2 separate regions of the Homo sapiens genome follow, and region 2 is linked to region 1. The links are contacts of gene promoters, found by promoter capture Hi-C in human tissues and cell types (Jung and others, 2019). All regions are on one chromosome and are shown on one strand. The core of a region is centred on a gene start or on the middle of the fragment in contact, and the rest is flanking DNA. Distances in the headings are between cores, read along the strand shown.

What was found. Contacts are between HindIII fragments. The study calls those that stand out against the background at their distance.
Region 2: a fragment that was not itself captured here is called in contact with the fragment with the promoter of MUC4 in region 1 in 2 of the 25 tissues and cell types used here (adrenal gland and psoas muscle).

What each region holds. Positions count from the first base shown.
Region 1 is chr3:195,809,417-195,813,834 of GRCh38, forward strand. MUC4 (mucin 4, cell surface associated) reads right to left here and starts at 2,513. Exons shown (of 25, transcript NM_018406.7): 1 at 2,320-2,513. The coding sequence starts at 2,401. RefSeq lists enhancers at 1-209, 210-773. The HindIII fragment of the contact is 26,053 bases long and covers 1-4,418 here.
Region 2 is chr3:195,914,412-195,918,829 of GRCh38, forward strand. All of the region lies in intron 3 of LOC124906253 (keratinocyte proline-rich protein-like), which reads right to left. Among named protein-coding and RNA genes, the nearest start is that of TNK2, 8.1 kb to the left of the region's middle. RefSeq lists an enhancer at 383-995 and a silencer at 597-646. The HindIII fragment of the contact is 6,786 bases long and covers 1-4,418 here.

The sequences.
Region 1 (4,418 bases), core at 1,263-3,762:
TGGGGGTGGGGGCTGCCCACCCGCCCTTGGTGACTGCTTTTCCTGCCAAGGCCCTGGTCATGCCCGGTCAGATGTGTGGGTGCCATCTCCCAGCCACGACCATCTCCTCTCCTGGCCCAGCTCCACTTGGTCCCCTTAGCGACGCAAAGGACTCAGCGCTCCACGACATGCCTAGCTTCTTCGGGTCGTCATGGAGACGCCCTTGCACACCAACAGTCCTTCACTCCTTCTCCGGGTCACGCCCCCGTGCTTTTCCACGCCCACCCCAGGTCTTGCCCCTCTGCGCTCCTCTCCACAGACCCCACTTCCTGGCTCCACATGGAGCTGAGTGTCCAGCTGGTACCCAGCACATTTGGGCTCAGCTTTAAATCACAGATTTGGAAACTCAAGAACTTGGGCGTCAGGAGGTCCAACCGTTCACCACTGCTTTTTACACAGGGGACCGGGGCCCTGGGGAGACACGGGGCAGGGCCTGGTCACAGGGGCCAGAACAGTTCACGGCAAAGACTTGGCCCTGGGGCTCCTAAATCCAAGCTGCCTCCCCGGCGCCCCAAGCCCCAGCCTCGCTCTGGGAGTCATGATTCCCGTGGAGACTCCTTCAACCACATCTGCAGGGCAGGGCCGTGTGGCGGCTCCTTCCGGCCTCCACGTCCTCACGGTGGGATGAGCACTGGAGCGGGGTTGTGTGGCCAGGGTGGGGTGGGGGTGCTGGAGGGTGGGGAGGTGTAGGGAGGTGGTGGCAGTTTCCTTTGCCCTCAGCCTAGTCCTGAAACATCCCGAGGTGGAAGGGTCCGCTTCACCAGCATGGCTTCTCTTGCAGCCTTTAAACGGCACTCGCCTTCTGACTCACTCCCAGGAAGCTCCTCAAATATGCGCCCAAGAAATATTTTCCCTCGGCGACTGTTCTTAGCCTGCTGAGAGGCAGGGCAGGAGCTGAGACTCTAACCCCAGCTTGAACTCTGGACCCCAGACTCTCCCCCAAAGACTCAGACACCCAGAAACACAGAATAAAACTTGGTCCTGAAGCCAGAGGGACAGCCTGGAAAGTGTGGGGAAGAGGACGGGGGCCCCCGAGGGAACATCTCCCACAGGCCTGGCATCCCTCCCCTCCCAGCTCTGTACACGGAGGAGCCCAAGGCCAATGCCGGGGCTACGAGCCCCAGGCAAGGCCGTGACCCAAATGGAGGCTTTTAAACCCGAGCTCAGAGGTAAGAAGCCCACGGCCAGCACCTCCCGGCCCTCTGCGCCCTGGCCGCCTCCTCCGCACCACCCTCCCGGCCGGCCTGCCCCTCTCCTCCTTGTCGCTTCCCTTGCTTGCTGCTGTCTCCCGATCTTCTCCTCTCTCCATTCCCAGGGTCCTCAGTTTGTCTGCGTCTCACCTGTCTCGTCCTCTCACCCTGCAGCTTTACATGAGTTTTCTTCCGTCTCCATCACCCAGCTTTCCTGGCATCCCCTCTACCCCCAGCTCTGTACACAAGGGTGTACATCTTTCTCCTTGACTCTGTTCCTCTTGCTCTGGCTCTGCCTGTCTTTCTCTCTGCGAGTAAGCCTGGGCTCTCACCATGGATCCTTCCAGACATCGCCGGGCTGCTCTCTGGCCCTCTGTTCTCTTTTCTCTCTCTTTCGAGCATTCTCCCTCTGTCTTTCCCCTCAGATCTTGTCCCGTATCTGCCAGTTCATGCCTCCTCTTCCCCACTTTTCTCCTCTTCTTATTTTTTATTTTATTTTATATTTATTTATTTATTTATTTATTTATTTATTTATTTATTTATTTTGAGACAGAGTCTCGCTCTCTCTCCCAGGCTGGAGTGCAGTGGCGCGATCTTGGCTCACTGCAACCTCCACCTCCCAGGTTCAAGTGATTCTCCTGCCTCAGACTCCTGAGTAGCTGGAATTACAGGTGGGGCCCACCACGACCGGCTAATTTTTGTATATTTAGTAGAGACGGGGTTTCACCATGTCGGCCAGGCTGGTCTCGAACTCCTGACCTCAGGTGATCTCCTGCCTTGGCCTCCGAAAGTGCTGGGATTACAGGCATGAGCCACCGCGCACGGCCTCCACTCTTCTTTCTCTCTCCCTCTTCTCTTCCTCTTCTTTCCCTCTCTGGGTCTCTCTCCACCTTCCCCCCATGTTGTCCCATTCATCTCTTTCTCCTTTCCCTCTCCCTCTTTTTCTCTCCCTTCTCTTCCTCTTCGCTGTCTCCCTTTCCCCTATTCTCTCTCTCTCTCTCTCTGTCTCCCCGGACCTCTTTCTCTGACAGCTCCCACCTCCCCCAAGTGCTCCCCGCAGCCAGCCTCATCTGCTGTCTCCATCACTTACCTGGGACCACATGCGGAAGGAGGCAGAGACACAGGCAGCTCAGGGACACCCAGGGGACCCTCCTCCAGCGTGCCCCCTTCATGGCTGCGGCAAAAGTCCCCCTGGCTCCCTGGGGAAGCTCCACGGCCCAGCAGCTGCAGTGTGAGGAGCAGACGTGAGCCCGTCCCCTCAGGCGGCTGGCCCGAACCAAGTGCGTTTCTCCGAAGGGGCCAGGGAACCTGGGAAGAGGACAAAAGAGGGCGGGGCCCCACGCTAATCACCCTTTTCTCTCCTCAGCCCCACCCCACTACCCCACCAGGAAAGAAAACACCGATACACCCGTTGCTCTGCTTCTCATCAGCCTGAGCTGAGTGGCGGGAGGGATGGGAGGAGACATGGGGGAATGGGAACAGGTCACACTGGAAATGGGTGGGCCACCCTCCTAGCCGGGTTCCTGGGTCCTCTCCTCCCTCCCCAGGGGCTGCCCCTGTCCCACCAGAGCTTTGGGCTGCTGGGAAGAATGGGGAAGAAAGGGCCCCAGAGGGAGCGACCTTGGGGCTGTATGAATGGGGGAAAGAGAGTGAGACTTAAGCAGACCCCAAGGAATTGGGAAGCGGGGAACCATGTGGGTGAGGGGCAGGAACAGAAATGCACTGTATGCCGTCTTTTGGAAAGGGGTGGTGTGCTTGGAATATCTGCTCAGTGCAGGCGCGTGGCAGACCCCAGACGCGTGGCAGACCCCAGACGCGTGGCAGACCCCAGACGCGTGGCAGAACCTCAGTGCAGATGCGTGGCAGACCCCAGACGCACGGCAGATCCCAGACACATGGCAGACCCCAGACCCATGGCAGACTCCAGACGCGTGGCAGACCCCAGACGCGTGGCAGACTCCAGACGCATGGCAGAACCTCAGTGCAGACTCGTGGCAGAACCTCAGTGCAGACGCATGGCAGACCCCAGATGCGTGGCAGACCCTCACCAGATGGTGGACTTCTTCTTTCCAGGGCAGGGAGCTGGAGCCAGGGTGCAGGGAGCCAGGGACAGTCTGGGAGACTGGCCTGAGGGAGCTGGCATGGGCAGTGGGTTGAAGGCAGAACCTCGGTAGGAGGAAGCGACTGTAACCTGTGAGGAGGTGGAGCTGCTCCTGGAGACCTGGGGGCTCTGCTCACCCCAGTTCCACCTCTTGGAACTCACAGGCACAAGCGAGGAGGGAAAGGGACCCCAAGTAGGGTTGTAAAGACGAAGAGGGCAGTTGGTGTAGCTCTCTGCAAAGGAAAACGGGGATACCTCCGCTCCCCTCTTTGCCACAGTGTGAATCTCTGCTTCTGATTCCTCAAGACTTGATTCCCGAATGTGGGGTGTCTGTGGGGTGACTCGTCCCAGAGCAGGGACCTTCGATGCTCAGACACTGTGGGGCCCAGGACAAGGACTCAGGGTTTCTGCATTCCCAAGCAGAGCCAGCCTTGTCCAGCAAGGAGTAGGCAACCGACGCTGTGGCGCTGTCTCCGAGGGTCACGGAGGCCCTGTGACCACTTGCTTCTAGAAGCTGAAAGTCTGTTCATGGCCCCAGGCCAAAGCCTGGGCCACGCCATAATAATGCGGATACCGTGGGGAAGTGGCGTGGTCCCCCAACAGTCCCTCCAGCTCTGGGTGGACGAGCTGACCCTGTTCTTTCCTGGAGGTAAGAAAATCATAAAGGTAAAGAGTCATGTGGAGCATCCTGTGGGCGCCTGGACGGGGCAGCAGGAGGGACCTACTGCAGGGAATTCGCAGACACCAAGGCCCAGCTTGGCCTTCGTGATCATTTTGCACTTTTTTTTTTTTTTGAGATGGAGTCTTGCTCTGTCGCCCAGGCTGGAGTGCAGTGGCACCATCTCAGCTCACTGCAAGCTCCGCCTCCCGGGTTCACGCCATTCCCCTGCCTCAGCCTCCCTAGTAGCTGGGACTACAGGCACCTGCCACCACGCCCGGCTAATTTTTTTTGTATTTTTAGTAGGGACGAGGTTTCACCATGTTGGCCAGGTTGGTCTCGAACCCCTGAACTCAGATGATCCGCCCGCCTTGGCCTCCCAAAGTGCTGGGATTACAGGCGTGAGCCACTGCACCCGGCCCGTGGTCAT
Region 2 (4,418 bases), core at 1,155-3,654, 100 kb after region 1:
GGGTTCAAGCAATTCTCCTGTCTCAGCCTACCGAGTAGCTGGGATTACAGGCACGCACCATCACATCACACCCGGCTAATTTTTATATTTTGAATAGAGACAGGGTTTCACCATGTTGGTCAGGCTGGTCTTGATCTCCTGACCTCAGGTGATCCACCCGCCCTGGCCTCCCAAAGTGCTGGGATTACAGGTGTGAGCCACTGCTCCCAGCCAGCATCTTAGTTTTTAAAAGCTCCTTAAGTGATTCCAACCAGCTACCAGACATGGGAGGTGCTTGGCTGAAGGCAAACTCTGGCGGGGAGGAGGAGCCAGTCTGTTCCCAAGCACACCCTCACTGCCTAGAAGGAGGCCTGGGCTAAGGCCCACGGAAGGGAGGGCTGGGATCAGGACGATCTGACTTGACAAAGGGCCACCATTTCTGAGTCAGGAGGGGATCACTTGCCTCCTGGCGGAGGTGAAGAGACGGATTTCTGAAGGAATTCTTAGGCATGGTGTGTATCTGCTAACCCCGGCCACATCCTCCCAGGACCGAGAACAGACTGTGCCTTCACCCTATTGCCCAAGTCAGAGGTCCCTGGAGCTGCCAAGGGGGCTGTGCTCACATGCCCCCGAGCAATTCAGTTTTCAAAACCTTACTAGGCCGTTGGGAGGAGGCACTGCCAGCTGCTCCCACACACCTGCCCCCTCTGCCCAATCACAGCAAGAGCCAAATGAGCCGAGAGATGACAAACCCTGAGGTCATCATGGGCTCTTCTGAAACAGAGCCTCATGGAGCCCTGCGCTCTGGTGCCCCCTGGTGGACACCTAGAGTTGTGGTTGGTAACCAACAAATGGACCAGTGAGTTCAGTTACTCCTGATTGGTTGGTGTTCGGGCACAGTCATGCCAGATGTGGCCCCATACACAGAATCAAGGAATTTCTAGTGCGGCGCAGTGGCTCACAGTTGGAATCCCAGCACTTGGGAGGCAGAAGCAGCAGGATCAGTTGAGTGTAGGAGTTCAAGGCTGCAATGAGCTATGATCTGCACTCCAGCCTGGGTGACAGAGGGACACCCTGTCTCTAAAAAAATTAATTTTTTTGAGACAGTGTCTCGTTCTGTCACCCACGCTGGAGTGCAGTGGCATGATCTCGGCTCACTGCAACCTCTGACTCTTGGGTTCAAGCGATTCTCCTGCCTCAGCCTCCCCAGTAGCTGGGATTACAGGCATGCGCCACCACGCCCGGCTAATTTTTGTATTTTAGTAGAGACGGGGTTCCACCATGTTGGCCAGGCTGGTCTTGAATTCCTAAGCTCAAGTGATCCTCCCGCCTCGGCCTCCCAAAGTGCTGGGATTACAGGCGTGAGCCACTGCGCCGGGCCAAAAAGAAATTAATTTTTAAAAAAGAGGCTAGGCATGGTGGTTTACACCTATAATCCCAGTATTTTGGGAGGCCCAGGTGGGAGGCTGCTTGAGGCCAGGAGCTAGAGACCAGCTTGGGCAACATGGCAAGACTCCCTACCTACAAAAAATTTAAAAATTAGTCAGTCGTGGTGGTGTGCACCTGTCATCTCAGCTACTCAGGAGGCTGAGGTGGGAGGATTGTTTGAGGCCAGCAGTTCGAGGCTGCAGTGGGGGGTACCATCACACCACTGCACTCCAGCCCTGGGCAACAGAGAGAGGCGTTGTCTCAGAAATAAATAAATTAAATAAACAAACTTCCAGTGGAGGAGTCAAGACCAATCATATGAAGGACGGGCTCCTTTGATTCTTCACCTACTCCTTTAACTCCCTGAAATCTGGCCTCCCCTGGAGCCCACCATACTAAGTGTGGGAAATGTTGCAGTCAAGGCTTGTCTTTAAATGGTGAGGTACTGTGTCACTCTTGCACCTTTCTTCTGCTCTCTCCTTTGCTCAAATCCAATTTGCAGTGCAGACACTGCACAGTCTTTAGCTAACTGTTCTTCCTCCTTCTGCTAAAATAGTGAGCCTCCCAGGCAAGCCCATACCTGCTCCGTTCTTGGCTACCCTCTCCAGCTTGGTAAGATCGTTTCCACCCACTGCCACTCCCCGACTCCCCTCCCACAGCTGAGCCAGCGAGGCCCCCAGGTACCAAGCTCCCTGCATCTGCGGCTGCCTGCCTGCGCACTGATGTTGAGTGGACACCCAGACTTGCTCCATCTTAGGAGGTAGCAACAGAACCCAAACTCTCAGTTCCAGCTCTCCTTCCCTTCTCCCCTGGCTCTCTCATTTGTCCAGAAAGCAGATTCAGGTTCTTGGCAGCCCCCTTTACCCATCTCCTCCTTCAGCACCTAATACACCTACTTCAGCCCCAGATACCTCAGGGCTCCACCCTTCTGCCTCCTCTCTCGACTCACTTCCTCTCAGCTACCACTTTATTCCACATAGAAAGAACCTGTGTCCAAGTCCTAGCTTCCCCACGTTCATTTTTCAAACAGTGATCAAGTACCTTTGGGATGCCAGACCCCTAACCATGAGGTGACTTCCATGTGAGTGGGATCAGATCCTTCCATTAGCCTCTGCACGTAAGACATGAACCCTCACCGGGAGACTGTAAGAATTACACAAGATAATGCGATGCTATTCACACCCTTGAATGGCATGATTACAGCAAACATTGTGTAGATGACCTTGCCGACTTCAGTCCCTGTACCTCCTGGTTAATTCCCTGTTAATCTTCCTAAAACATCGATTTCATCATGTCTCTCCCTTACTCAAGAACTCCACATTGCTCCCCAGTTCCACGCAGCATCGCTCCCCGGTTCCACTCAGCATTCCTCCCCGGTTCCACGCAGCATCGCTCAGTGCCCCACAGGTGTGAGTGTTCTACAAATCACAGCAGCCCTTAGGGGATGATTCACCACAGTAGCAGAGTTGGAAGTTGGGTCTAGAAGGGCCAAAAAGCCAAAACACACAAAAAGCCACAGCGAAGATAGGTCTGTGGGTTAAAACTCAAGGAAATTCCATGCCTAGAAGACAAGGCAGTCAGTATGTCAGAAATCAGGGAAGCAGGTGAAGACACAGATACAAGTCACCCTCAGCAAGGATGCCAATCTGTAACTTCTGCAGAGACGGGCTTGTCCATAGAAAAAAGGGACGTTCCTGGAACATTTGCTGTAGTTATCCAAGACACCTCACTATCAGCAGACCCAAAGAAGGTGACCGGGTGGTTAGGCCCAGAGGAACACTCGCAGGGGAACGCAGGGCACCTACGAGGTGAGTACAGCTTCTACGGTCTCACCAACAGCACTTCTTTGTTACTGGGATGCAGAGGAAACGATTATAAAAGAATAAATTTAGACCGGGTGTAGTAGCTCACGCCTGTAATCCCAGCACTTTGGGAGGCTGAGATGGGCAGATCACCTGAGGTCAGGAGTTTGAGACCCACCTGGCCAACATGGTGAAACCTCATCTCTACTAAAAATACAAAAATCAGCTGGATGTGGTGGCGGGCGCCTGTAGTCCCAGCTACTCAGGAGGCTGAGGCTTGAGAATCACTTGAACCCTGGAGGCAGAGGTTGCAGTGAGCCGAGTTTGCGCCATTGCACTCCAGCCTGGGCAACAGAGCGAGACTCCATCTCAAAAATAAATAATTAAATAAATAAATAAATAAAAATTTGAAGGGTAGAATTGAATCTGGGTGTGAAGTTTGAAGGAGGGAATGTACATTCTCAATGGGAGAGGGATTTTATGTTACAGCTGAAAAGGCCTTAGAGAACATCAAGTCTAACACTCACTTAGCAGTGAGGACACAGGCTCTGAGAGGTAGAGTGAGTGACCCACAAACAGCAATTGAAGGATAGAGCAGGTGACCCATGGACTTACAGCAATTGAAGGGTAGAGCGGGTGACCCACGGACTCACAGCAATTAAAGGACAGAGCAGGTGACCCACGGACTCACAGCAATTAAAGGATAGAGCAGGTGACCCACAGACACACAGCAACTGAAGAGTAGAGCGGGTGACCCACGAACACACAGCAACTGAAGAGTAGAGCGGGTGACCCACGGACACACAGCAACTGAAGGGTAGAGCGGGTGACCCACGGACACGCAGAAATTGAAGGGTAGAGCGGGTGACCCACGGACACGCAGCAATTGAAGGGTAGTGACTGCAATTGGATTAGAATCTCCATGACCAAGATAGAAATCCAGGGCGCCTACTCTACTCTACTCTCTCTCTCACCCGACTCCTGAACCCTCTAATACACACATAAATACCATGCTGAAGCTGCGCTGCAACAAACCCAGACGCGAGAAAAGTATGTTAGTGAATCTTGGGAATTTACATATGGGGATTGTATATGGCCCTGTCTTGATTTGCCTGGTTATAGGTGATGAAAAAGTACTTTGGCCAGGCACAGTGGCTCACGCCTGTAATCTCAACATTCTGGGAAGCTTCAAGGCAAGAGGATTGCTTG